Linked DNA regions of Homo sapiens: region 2 is linked to region 1. Evidence: promoter capture Hi-C in human tissues and cell types (Jung and others, 2019). All regions are on one chromosome and are shown on one strand. Each heading gives the region's core, a stretch centred on a gene start or on the middle of the fragment in contact. The rest is flanking DNA. Distances are from core to core; before and after follow the strand shown.

The links. Contacts are between HindIII fragments. The study calls those that stand out against the background at their distance.
Region 2: a fragment that was not itself captured here is called in contact with the fragment with the promoter of TBC1D9 in region 1 in 1 of the 25 tissues and cell types used here (heart left ventricle).

The regions. Positions count from the first base shown.
Region 1 is chr4:140,752,672-140,758,669 of GRCh38, forward strand. It overlaps TBC1D9 (TBC1 domain family member 9), which reads right to left and starts at 3,714. Exons shown (of 21, transcript NM_015130.3): 1 at 3,245-3,714. The coding sequence starts at 3,374. RefSeq lists a silencer at 3,067-3,756 and enhancers at 3,412-4,054, 4,055-4,696, 4,187-4,236. The HindIII fragment of the contact is 15,545 bases long and covers 1-5,781 here.
Region 2 is chr4:140,146,977-140,152,840 of GRCh38, forward strand. The region is part of intron 1 of MAML3 (mastermind like transcriptional coactivator 3); the gene reads right to left. Among named protein-coding and RNA genes, the nearest start is that of MAML3, 4.3 kb to the right of the region's middle. RefSeq lists enhancers at 3,082-3,926, 3,927-4,769. The HindIII fragment of the contact is 8,266 bases long and covers 1-5,801 here.

The DNA of each region.
Region 1 (5,998 bases), core at 2,464-4,963:
TAAATAAATCAATCAAATGCATCCACAATGGAAGACTTCATTGCACCAATGCCTATACATATTGCTTGGAATCAGGAACCTAGAATATCTTAATTTTTAAAAAATGTTAAGTGTCCTCAACTTTGACCCACTGTTTTTTATAGCTTTCTGTGCTAATCTTTCCAAGCTCCCTGATGACCACACTTTGAGACCACTTCTGGCCAGTTCACACTGGGCAAGTTTCCCTACTCATCTGTCATCTATTTGCTGGGTGTACACATGTACACTGATCCAGATAATGCATATTATGTAAAGGTCCTGAGATCTTCCAGAAAATCTCCAACAGCTGATATCTAACACTTACTCTTCCCTCCTCTCCTCACAGGCAGATCTTTTTCTTTCTTCAGTTCTAAGCTCAAGCGTCACTTCCTCAAGGAATCTTTCCTTTGCCTCCACCTCCAAGACCCCATCACTTAACTGGGACTAACCAACATCATGTTCCTCTTCTTATGATATTTGTTCTGATCATTCTCAGTTTGCCCCCATCCATTCCTGGGAGGCTGATCCCAAGAAACTACATTACCAGGACTCTTTCCAGCTAGATTCTTTTTTTTTTTTCCTTTTCTAGCGATAAGGTCTCACCATGTTGCCCAGTCCGGATTTGAATGCCTAGGCTCAAACCATCCTCCAGCCTCAGCCTCCCCAGCAGCTGGGACTACAGGCATACACCACCATGCCCAGTTCCTTAGCTGGCTTCTATTGGGTTCCAGGGATGGGAGGCAGTGGCAGAAGCTGGGAGGGTGGGAGAAGAGAGAAGTCAGGGCATGTACTCCCCACTCCCTTTCTGCTATTGTCTATGTTTTTACAAGTAGCTGCTTCTCTCCAGGCTCAAGTTCCTCTTCCCTGGCTCCAGCTCTCACGGACTCCTGAGAGTCCTGCCTCTGGTTTGCCTTACACCAGTTCAAATAACCATGCCTCTATTTTTCGAAGTTGTCTTTTCACTCATCTCTCTTCATTTGGATTCTGTTTTCTGCTGGGACTCTGTAGAGTGGCAATTTTACTTTAATTTATGTGATTATTTCATCAATACCTGTCTTCTACTAGGCTTGAGCTTCACAACATTAGCACTTCTAGAAGTTGCCAACAAATATTTGTTAAATGATTTAGTGAGTTAGTGAATGAATGAACTTACATTAGAATCAGAATATACTACACATTGTGTAACATTTCTAAAATGTTCCTGCTACATTTGACATGGCACCAAGGTATTAGACCAAACATTTTACCTCTCTTGCTTGAAAATAGCCTTTGTTGTCATAAATACTTTTACTCATGACAATGATTTCAATTATTCCATTAATAAGTGCAATCACTGTGATTTCTCAATTTACAAGATGTAATTTTACCTAAGTGAAAGAAGTCATTGATGACAAGATGAGATTTCAAGTGGACCGTAGTCAGTTATAGCTCTAAGAACCAGTAGGAACACAATACAAATGTTAAGCAGAAAAAGAAGGCTCTGAATCCCTGAATTTTTCACATCCTATTACAAATGACACAGGTAAATGAATACTTAATGCTTACAAGGTGTAGGAGGGTTAATTGCAGAAGGAAATGTTCTCTTTTTACTACAATAAATTATCTACTCTGTGTTGTTGTCCTAGGCTTAAAGGACTACATGGGCCGGGTGAGGTGGCTCACGCCTTTAATCCCAGCACTTCGGGAGGCCAAAGTGGGCGGATTATTTGAGATCAGGAGTTCAAGACCAGCCTGGCCAACATGGTGAAACCCCATCTATTAAAAATACAAAAAAAATTAGCCGGGCGGGTTGGTGCATGCCTGTAGTCCCAGCTACTCAGGAGGCTGAGGCAGGAGAATCACTTGAACCCAGGAGAAGGAGGTTGCAGTGAGCCGAGATCACGCCACTGCACTCCAGCCTGGGCGACAAAGCAGGACTCTGTCTCAAAAAAAAAAAAAAAAAAAAAAAAAAAAAGGACAATGTGGGCTGATTCCAATATTAGATATGTAAATTACATATTAACATTTAGAGTTAGATAACTTCTACAAAATGACCTGGAAAATCCTGGTATCAGATCACTAGTAAGTATTTCCAGAATGGGGTCTGGAGCTCTGCAGATTTATCTTTTCTGGTAGAATCAAGATCCTTCAAACATACCAGTATACATTGTACCACATGACACCTGAATTTTAATCTTAAGAAAATTAGTTTATAAATATAATCATAAGTAAATACATATATCAAGAATCTTTATTTCATAGCACAGCATTTGAAAGCAACAATTTACCTATTGTGCAAACTCCAGGTGATATATGAGGTTGATATAAGCTCAACTCTGAGGAGGGTCAAAGTTCATCTCTTTTTTGCAGTCTCCTTTCTAGTGAAACCTCTACTATTTCTTCTGCTAACTTTTTCACTGTAAAAAGTATTCCAGTTCTGTTCATTCTAAATAACACAGAGATGGAGAAGGTCCAATTTCTCTAGTATGGTATGAGTTCGAGATTATTTCTAATATGGCACTACTTTGGATATGGGTCTGACTGATCTTATTATCCTGAATGATATGACATGGCTTCAGCAACAATTACAATAATACCTTGAAGGGAGGGGGTTTAGGGAAGAAGTGATTGAGCAAAAATAGTTAAAATGCAGTTATACAGCCAATTATTTTTACAACTAGAACCAGACAATTTGCTTTGCTTTATGTCTAATTAGGTGAAACAAAAAAATTCCTGTTTCCGTATTCATTCTCTTCGGTCATAACTCATATAGGAAATGACCACATCAGTTCCTTACTTATCGCTTCCCTGGAAACAAAAGAGCATTTTATACCTGATCCTGCTGTTGCCAGTAAAGAAAGTGGAGCAAAAATTAACCTTCTTCCATCCCTCTTTTCCATTTGGAAAACAATATTTTTAAGGGGGGGAGGGGAAGGGAATGATGCATTCAATATATAGGGGATAATACATTCCCTCCGCCCCAGACTCACTCTTTCCCATTCTCCTCAACATATCCACTTAAAGAGCGCTCAGTACGCTGAGGGCCCCAAGCCTGACAGAGTCAAAAAAAGAAGCATCTCTGCCCAACCTGAACATCACGACTCTCGATGCCTCGCATACAACGAGGCAGGGCGGGTCGCCCAGCCCCAGGGGACCGGGCGGCGTCTCCCGAGCCTGCAGCCCAGGCCGCGGGCGGCGCCGCAGCGCTCCCGGCTCCCCTCCTGCAGGGATCGGCCACGGTCCTTACCCGCCAGTCCGCCGCCGCCGCCTCCATCGCCGGCGTGGCCCTTCCTCCGCTGCAGGATGAAGTATGGGTTGGCCCTCTCGGTGATCCACAGCGCGTTGGCCAGCAACACCTCCTCCGGGTTCACCCACATGGTCCTGGCTGCCGCGGGCGGGCGCACAATGGGCCCGTGGGTCCAGTCCTGCACCCACCACCGCGACAGGCGCGCACTCCTGGGCACACGCGCGCCCGCCCGCCCGTCCGCTAGGTGCGGCGGCGGCGGCGGCAGGCGACTTCAGGGGGTGGCCCGCGGCGTCCGGGCCACAACAAAGCCCCAGCAGGCGGCCCGGGAGGACGGTGAGGACGCGGGCGCGGCAAGCAGCATCCTCCCCGCGGCGTCGCCGCCCCGCGAGAGCCCGCGGCCGCAGACGCCCGGCCTGGCACTCTGCAGCCCGGCTCCCGGCCCACGGCGGCGGGAGGAGCGGGAGGAGGAGGAAGAGGAGGAGGAAGGGAGCGGGAGGAGGAGGAAGTGGTATAGCTCAGTCCCGGGATCCGGCTCAGCGCCAGGCAGGGCTAAGGGCCACCCGAGCGGATTCGGCCCCGCGGTCAGGGCCAAGCTGGGCTCCGGCGCTGCTGCTCCCGCGGCGCCGACTGGAGCTCCAGAGCCCCTCCCGTCTCTACCTGCTCGAGCTCCCGAAGTCGCCGCGCCTTAACGCGCCGTGTCGGGGCCGCAGGCGCCACTAGGGAAGCCCAGCTCCCCGCTGGAAGGACGCTCCGGACACTGCGAATGAATGACGACAACGCGGCTCACTTGGAGCGGGTCCGGGTTTGTGCGGACTCGGTACCACCGCGGGCTCCGCGCGCCGAGCTGAGCAGCTGTGGCTGGCTTCGGGGGAACCTTCGGGGGAAGCTCCTGGGGACCGTGTGCCAAGCACTGGGCCCGACGCCCATCCCAGCAGGGAGGACGCCGCCAGCCTGCGTGGGTGCGTGTGTGCTGTTTGTGTTTAAGGTTGACGCTCTATGGGATAGCGCCACCCCTTTTCCCAGGAAAAGTGTTTCAAGGTTCCAGACCTGGAGCTCGGTTAGAGACCCGGGGTCGGAAGCCAACGCAGCCAATGGTCGTCGATGTTTTTGTTTCCTGCATCCCCAGGGCAAGTCATGCGCTAAACTTGTCACCGCTTGTGACCCCTCCCCCCTCTCCATTCCATTGTAATTAAAGTGGCCTAGCTAAGTGCATTACATCACTTCTTTCCTTGACCTGTAGGGCGTGAGCAATAGAGAAGTTGGAAGCGGCCCAAAAGCTTAGACCAACTAATTCACACCACAGCTGTTCCTATATCGCATTTGGGGCTTCGAAAACTGGGCATGGCAGAATTTTAAAATTTATCCACTCTTGGTAGATGGATTTTTTTTTTAATCAGTGAAACCAGAAACACACAAACCAGGGCAGCTTTATCCCTAGACAGTTTCAGTTTCCCCAAATACTTCGAGCTTCCAGTGGTGATCACAGCCCATCTGCCTACATATCTGATGACCATTTTTTTTTCCTCCCGCCCAGGAGATCTGGAGGATAGTTCAGCCAAAAAAAAAAAAAAAAAAAAAAAAAAAAAAGTTCCTCTTCCCAAATGATGGGAATTTAGCAGACTCTGCTTTGTTGTGGATGCTGGGCAATCCTAGGGACTTTTCCCTTTCCAAATGAGCAGAGATTCAAATGAAACCTTCTTGTGTGGGCTTCAAAATTGTGACTTTTGTAGCTCCGACTTGAATTGTTGAATTCCTTCAATTAGTCGAATGAGCAAATCACCAGCCATTCTAATGAGACTGCCATTTCATCTGTTCGCTTCCTACCGCTTGGGCTCTCAAGGAATGGAAGTTTCCCTTGATGTTACCACACAGACTGATCTGCTTCTTCCAGGCATCAGTGGAAACCTCATGTATTTAACACAGACTCAAAAAACTCATTTGGCACTTTTGGTCACAGTGCAGTGCCTTCAGTCACAAAATCTGCAAATAAAAAGCAAACAATAAGATTATAAGTCATACATATGCAAAAATTATATTAATATATCATGTAACTTTTATATTTTTGAAGTGTTTCCATAGGTATTCTTTTACTTGATATAATTGGTATTTTTAAAAACTCTAAGTGCCTTAATACCATGTTGGGGTTTGGAAAATGATACCACAAAGCATGGTGCTTTGGCATGCTGAGTACTTTGAACTAAAGGAGATTGAAAGGCCTCAGAAGCAGTTTCTCTCTGACCTCCTTCTGCCCTCCTGTCTCCCACCTCTCTTTCTCCCCCAAAGTGAGTCATGGAAACTAAAGGCAGGTCATAGAAACTAAAACCCCTCTTCCCAAAGGAAGCTACAAAACCTAGAAATATTACCATTCCTCACTCTTCTGTGTAAGAGCAGACATAAAGAATAGAGAAATAAAGAAATTATCTACCCTACCTTGTTGGATAGTAGGTCCCCTTTCCAAAGGAGTCCTGCTCTAAACCCAGGAGGAGGGAAAGCTATACGGAGAGGCCAAGAAGAATCTGAACAGACAGACTGGGTCTGTTCTCAGTCTATTACCATTGGATCTTACCCTTTTGTCCAACCACATCTACATGGCTGCCCACTCTTCATTGAACCTAAGCACAAAAATGGACAGAGCGAGACTCTCTCAAAAAAATAAACAGGCTGGGCATGGTGGCTCATGCCTGCAACCCCAGCATTTTGGTAGGCAGAGCCAGGAGGACCCCATCTGTATTAAACCAGAGAGACCCCATCTCT
Region 2 (5,864 bases), core at 419-2,918, 610 kb before region 1:
CAAAAAATTAGCCAGGCGTGGTGGTACATGCCTGTAGTCTCAGCTACTCGGGAGGCTGAGGCAGGGGAATCACTTGAACCCAGGAGGCAGAGCTTGCAGTGAGCCGAGATTGCATCACTTCACTCCAGCCTGACGGCAGAGTGAGACTCCATCTCAAAAAAAAAAAAAAAAAAAAAAAAAATTGTTACGCCCTTGAATCTGGCTAGAATAATACTGAAAATCTACAGAGAATATATATTGTCAAAGTCTTGGATGCAAGAGCGTGATTTAGTATCTTAACTTCCATGAAACACTATGGACAATGTACCAATGCTGCTGAATGAATGAATGAAATTAGAAACTCAGTCTTTATTATTTGTGCTAAGTAAGAATAAAGGCAAATCCATACTAAATCCAAAATGGTATTGTATCTGATTGTTTCATTAGTTCTGAGAGTCAGGAGCACCAAAATTAAATTTTTTCTCTTCTTATTGCTTCTTCCCACTCTTTGATAACGGTGTTAAAGATCACTGAAAAGACCAAAAGGTTGGCAGCAGGTGGGGGGAAGGAAAAACAAAGCAAGCAGCCAGGGGATCTGAAAACTCAACCATCAGCCTTTGAATAATAGAGTGAAAAATGTAAAGCTATTTGGGAGACTTAAAAGGTAGACACTATGAAAATCTTGACAGTGAGTTTTAAATATGTTCCTCTTTATAAGAGTCTGATGTCTGTTTGATTGATTTCACAGTTCTCCAAGATGGGTAATGTGGAAAAAGACAACAGAATTTAGCCTTTTTAAGCTCAAGAGTATAAGACAGGACTGTTACTTAACAAACAGGGAACAGTAATCACACAAGTACTTCAAATATATCCAAGAATTACTATTTAACATGCAAAACAGGTTCTTACACTGGATCCCTTCTATGACACTCACACCAGGGTGAGTGAGTGAATGAGTGAATGTGTGTGTGTGTGTGTGCACGTGCATGCATGAGAGAGAGAAATGCCTTATATTCCTATCTCAACCAAATGGGCAGGAAAACTTCTTTAACAACAGTTGGCCATTAGTCTCACAGCGATATTCAGAAAATAACTCCATATAACTCTATTTTACTATTAAATTCCTCATCCTTCTTCTTCCAGAGATGTCAGTAAACTATGTACAGGACTGCCCATTTTTCTCCTATCAGGTGGCAGAAATCCTAAAAAAGATTCTAAAGTTTGCCCTTATAATTCTAATGAGACAGGATAGAAAGTATCAAGCATACTAGCTTCCTGAAAACTTGGCTTTCCCTGGGAAGGAACTCAGCTTGAAGAGCATTTTGTAGATTATGATTAATGCTTAACTAACTCTGCTTCTACTTTTCTGACCACTGGCTGCCCAGTACTAAATAAAATATACCACAACCAAATAACATAATAGAATTAAACATGTATTGGAGCTTAAAAAAATGCTTCTTGAGAATTAAAAGAAAAAAATACATATGAAGGACAGAAAAAACAAAATTTCAAAAAGTTTTCCACAAACTTAAGGCATGCTGTGTTGGGCAATGGAAAGCTTTCCGAAAGACAGTCTGTCCTGTTACCCATGCTAGCGGCAGAACAGGATAAGCCAAAGAAAAGGTTATCATAGGGAAGATGTAGAAATAGCTTGGTAATACGAGCTTGCCAAAAAAATTGATACAGAGCCAGTAATTTACCTTCAACAGGGTAAGAAATGGGAAGCCAGATTAACGTATAAGGACATTCAGCAGTGGACTAATATGTTGACATTTCCTGAATCTATTCCAGGAATGGATGGAACATTTTGGATGGGTTGTAGTTGTCTCCAATACTCGGTAATAACGCATTTATTATTAAATGCATGTTATGAATTTTTTGTGATAAGCTCTTCAGAACAGGGGTCACATAGATTTATGCAGTCTGTAAGCTGTATATAAATTAAGCACACTCTGAAAGTTACGATGGTGCTAATACAGTGAAGAGGTCATGAAAATAATATGGTCTTATCTAAGTCAACTAAGACTATCACCATTTTAAAATTTTGAAAACTGTGCACTGTCATGCTTTTTGATGTGCCTGCTCAGCTTGAAAATGTACTTGTCAATTGAAATTTGCCTTAAAATTTTAACCAGGACCTCAGTTCCAAATACAGCAAATAAACAATGCCCCCTTTTGTTACCACAAATAATTAAAAGCCATCTTTTCAACTGAGGCTCTCTGATAGGTGAAGTCAATAATTTTCACCAAGTCTTTGAGGGGAAGAAAAAAACTATGTCAATAAAGTGGTGGTGGTTGGGATGGGATCATTTGACTACATGTTCAGAACGGACCTAATACCTGAGGTAGTGCAGCTTCAAACCCAGGTCTGTGCCACCTGCTCTATCAACAGGGCTGGTGAGGACTCACACAGAACCCAGCCCCCTCTGTGGCAGCCTGGAGCCAAGGAAAATTTTTTACCCCTCACCCACTCTGCTTTTTGTTTGCTATTTTTTTGTTGTTGTTTTTCATGCCCATTCTTGTAAATGTGTAAGATAGGAAAACAAATCAAAAGAGGCAAAGCCCTCATTAGACTGCCTTCTTAATCCAAGCGAGGCAGAAAGATAATTAATCGATATTTAGTACTTCGGACATATTGGTCCTTAGAAAGTAAACAATACCAATGAAACAGTAAAGAATCCTATTCATCTTTATTTTTATATCACCGTTATTATTATTTGGTTGTGGGTGATCATTGTTTTTCTTTAGGGCTTTCCAAATAGAGCGCCCAATCTGAGAACTACATTTAATTGTTCTGTGCCTCACTGGAGTACAACTATAATCCTGCAGTCAATTCAAGAAAATGAAGAGCAACGTTTTCTTTACAACCTCTATTTTTGAGATTTTACCTCAATACAGACTGTTAAAATACTCTCAGAAGCCAAGGTTAACTTTTAAACTAATTATTTTAAAAGGAAATATAACTTGTAGAGCATGTTTCTTTCTTTTTTTTTTTTTTTTTTGGTACACAGAATTTACTTGCAACTCTGCTTAAGAGTTAAGGCTTACATTACATTCATCACACTCATCACACATACCAGTGAGAGATGCATGTGAAACAGCTGAAGCTAAAATACACTCCTATTCTGTACACAGCCCTGGCATTTATTAGTGCGTAAGTCTAATCAACAGGCTAAATCATTGTCATAAAATGACAGAAAATTTTATTTTCACGCAGTCATCTTTCAAGTCTATTTGTTGCTAATTTGCTAAACTGGGATTCACTATGAAATCTACAGCTGATGTCTCTGTCTATTGAAGCAAGCATTATCTTTCTATTTTCAAAAGTAAGCTGTGGCTTGGGCTTGCTGTCTTCTTCCCAGTAAGGTCAGGAGGCTGGGCTTGCTTCCACCTGCGAGTGTATCACAAACCAGGCGCGCGCACCCGAGCCCTCCCTCCACCAGGGCGGAAACCAGAGAACACAACCCAAACACCGAAAGTTTCTGGTCGCAAACTCTACTCATCTTGCCGTGTCCAGAGACCCGGCACTGGGAACGGCACTGGCTTTTGTTCCAGGGTCCCCCAGCTGGCGAGGTAAACGCCACAGCAGTCCTTGATCCCCAAAGGTTGTGAGAGATTCTGTGGCACGGGAATTTTGGAGCCTCCCGAAAGGAGCCCATTTCTCCGCAATCCATGCGCGTGGGGTGTACAAATACACGAAAAGAGGACGCGGGGTGGGCAGGCATGAAACCTTCAGTGCCTCTTAAATTCTCAGTCTCAGGTTCACAAAGTGAATCTCCTCCTCCGTGGAAGGGCGCTAGGGGGGCGGGGGCTGGGAGAGAAATAGGTTGGAGAAAGGGACCGGAGCTACAGTCGAGATGCGGGACCGGCCCCGCCTCCGGCTACAATCAGAAAAACTACAGTGTGTCAGTGGTTTTCGGTTTCCTGTTTGTAAAGCGAGAACCTCCCCCGACTCGAACTGTCGTTCTTCCTCAAAACCAACCGAGACGGCCCCTTCTTCGCGCTCGGGGCAGGCTCAGCCGCAGGGGGAGCGGAGAGGAGGGACGCGGGGGCATGGGGGGCGCGGCGGGGCGGGGACAGCCGCGATGAAGCGGGCAGGGCCACGGGGCGCAGCACCCCTCCCAGCCCAGCGGCCCCGGGGTCTGAGCTGGGCCGCGAGGCGGACAAAGCGCCTCCCGCTCCCTCCCCCACGGCCACGTTCCAAAAGGGAGGAAGAAGGCGGGCAAGAGTGGCTGGAGGAGGAGGAAGGGAGGAGGAAGGGGAGGGGGAGGAGGAAGAGGAGGAGGGAAGGTGCTGCCGGCGGGACTGGGCAGGATCGCGCCGACCTGGGAGGGGAGGGAGGAGGGGTTGAGCGCCCCCGGAGAACTGGGAGGAGGGAAGGATTCTTGAAGCCCAAGATAAACAAATTGTTCCTCTTCACGTGCGGGGTGGGGGGACGTGGGGAGCGAGCACTGCGGCGTCGCCTCCCCTCCCCCAAGCCGACTCTTTGTCACCGAGCGCCGGCCCGAGCCCCCGGCGAAAGCCCACGGCAGCACTGGCACCACCCCGGCGCCGGGGACTCACAGACCGGGAACGTGTGCGATTTCTAAACCGCACGACGGGAGGGCCGCCCCTGCCGGGCTCTGCGCCGCCGATCGCTGGGCGGTCTGCACGGGAAACAGGCGAAGGCGCGCGGCCCCGGCACGCTCCAGGATTCCCGTCGCCTGGCCCACCCAGCACCCGGGCGGCGCGGTGCGGGGGGGGGGGGCACACACCTTTCCCAAGCTTCCGGCCTCCCCTCACCCAGAAAGGAAAGCAAAAGAACCGGAGAGGGGAGATAAGAGAAAGGATTCTAGCCTCCGGCTTGGGGGGTGGGAACTGCCCCTTCCTCCTGGAGAAGTTAAGCCATTGGCTGCTCATCCTACCTCGAACCCGCCCACCCAGCCATTTAAGCCTCTTTTACCTCCCTGCTACCTTCCATTGCTCTGGGCTTATTAAGCAGGCCCCCAAAGTTGGCGGGCAGCGGGGCAGGGGGCGCCAAGCGGAGAAAGACTCCGTGCACGCAAGTTTAAAAGGAAAAAAGGAAAGAATCCCAAGCGAAGTTGTGTGGTGGGGCCTCTTGGCGCAAACCCTGGGTATTGCTTTCCCCTCCCGCCCCCTCCAGGCCGCTCCCCTCTTAACCCTCCCAGCCGCTCCACCTGCCGGGCTAGCCCCGAGTCGCGAGCAAAGAGCGGAGCGCACCCGCGCCCCGCATCCGCGCGCGCTCCCGCGAGCACCCCCGCGCGCAGCCACCCTCGCTCGTTTCTCACCCACTTCAAAGTTCATTCACAAAACTCTCAGACTTTCTCAGCCCAAAGGGGGTGAGCTGGGGAGAGGAGGCGAGAGGCTCTCCTTCCCCGCTTCCCCCCTAGGGGTTGAGGGCCTGGTGCCCGCCCAGAACCTGCGACAGCATCAATATTTCCACGCACCCGGCGGATGTGCTGAGAGGGGTGGGCGTAGGGGGACGGGTCTGGGGAGGCGAGGCGGCGCGGCTAGAGGTGGGGTGGGGAGCGGCGAAGAGGAGGAGCAAGGTTTCAACTCAGGGGTTCACTCTTTCAAATCGGTATCTTAAGAAAGGGAAGGGGGGAAACTTTTCCAGCACCTCACTCCGACGCTCCTCTAGGCTCCCTCCGCCCCTCGCAGTCGTGACTGGCTTCTCCCCTCTCGCCCCCTCCTCCCCAAATCTGACAACCCTGACAGATTAACAGGTAGCGACGACGGCAGCTTTTTCCCTAAGAAAAGTTGACGTTAACCCTTAGGCTTCAGCCCACCTCACCCACCGTGCAAATCAGACCCTTGTACCCCCATGTAAGAAGCTCCACGCGCCCCCCACCACCACCACCACCCCCAACGCGCGCCGCAAGCCC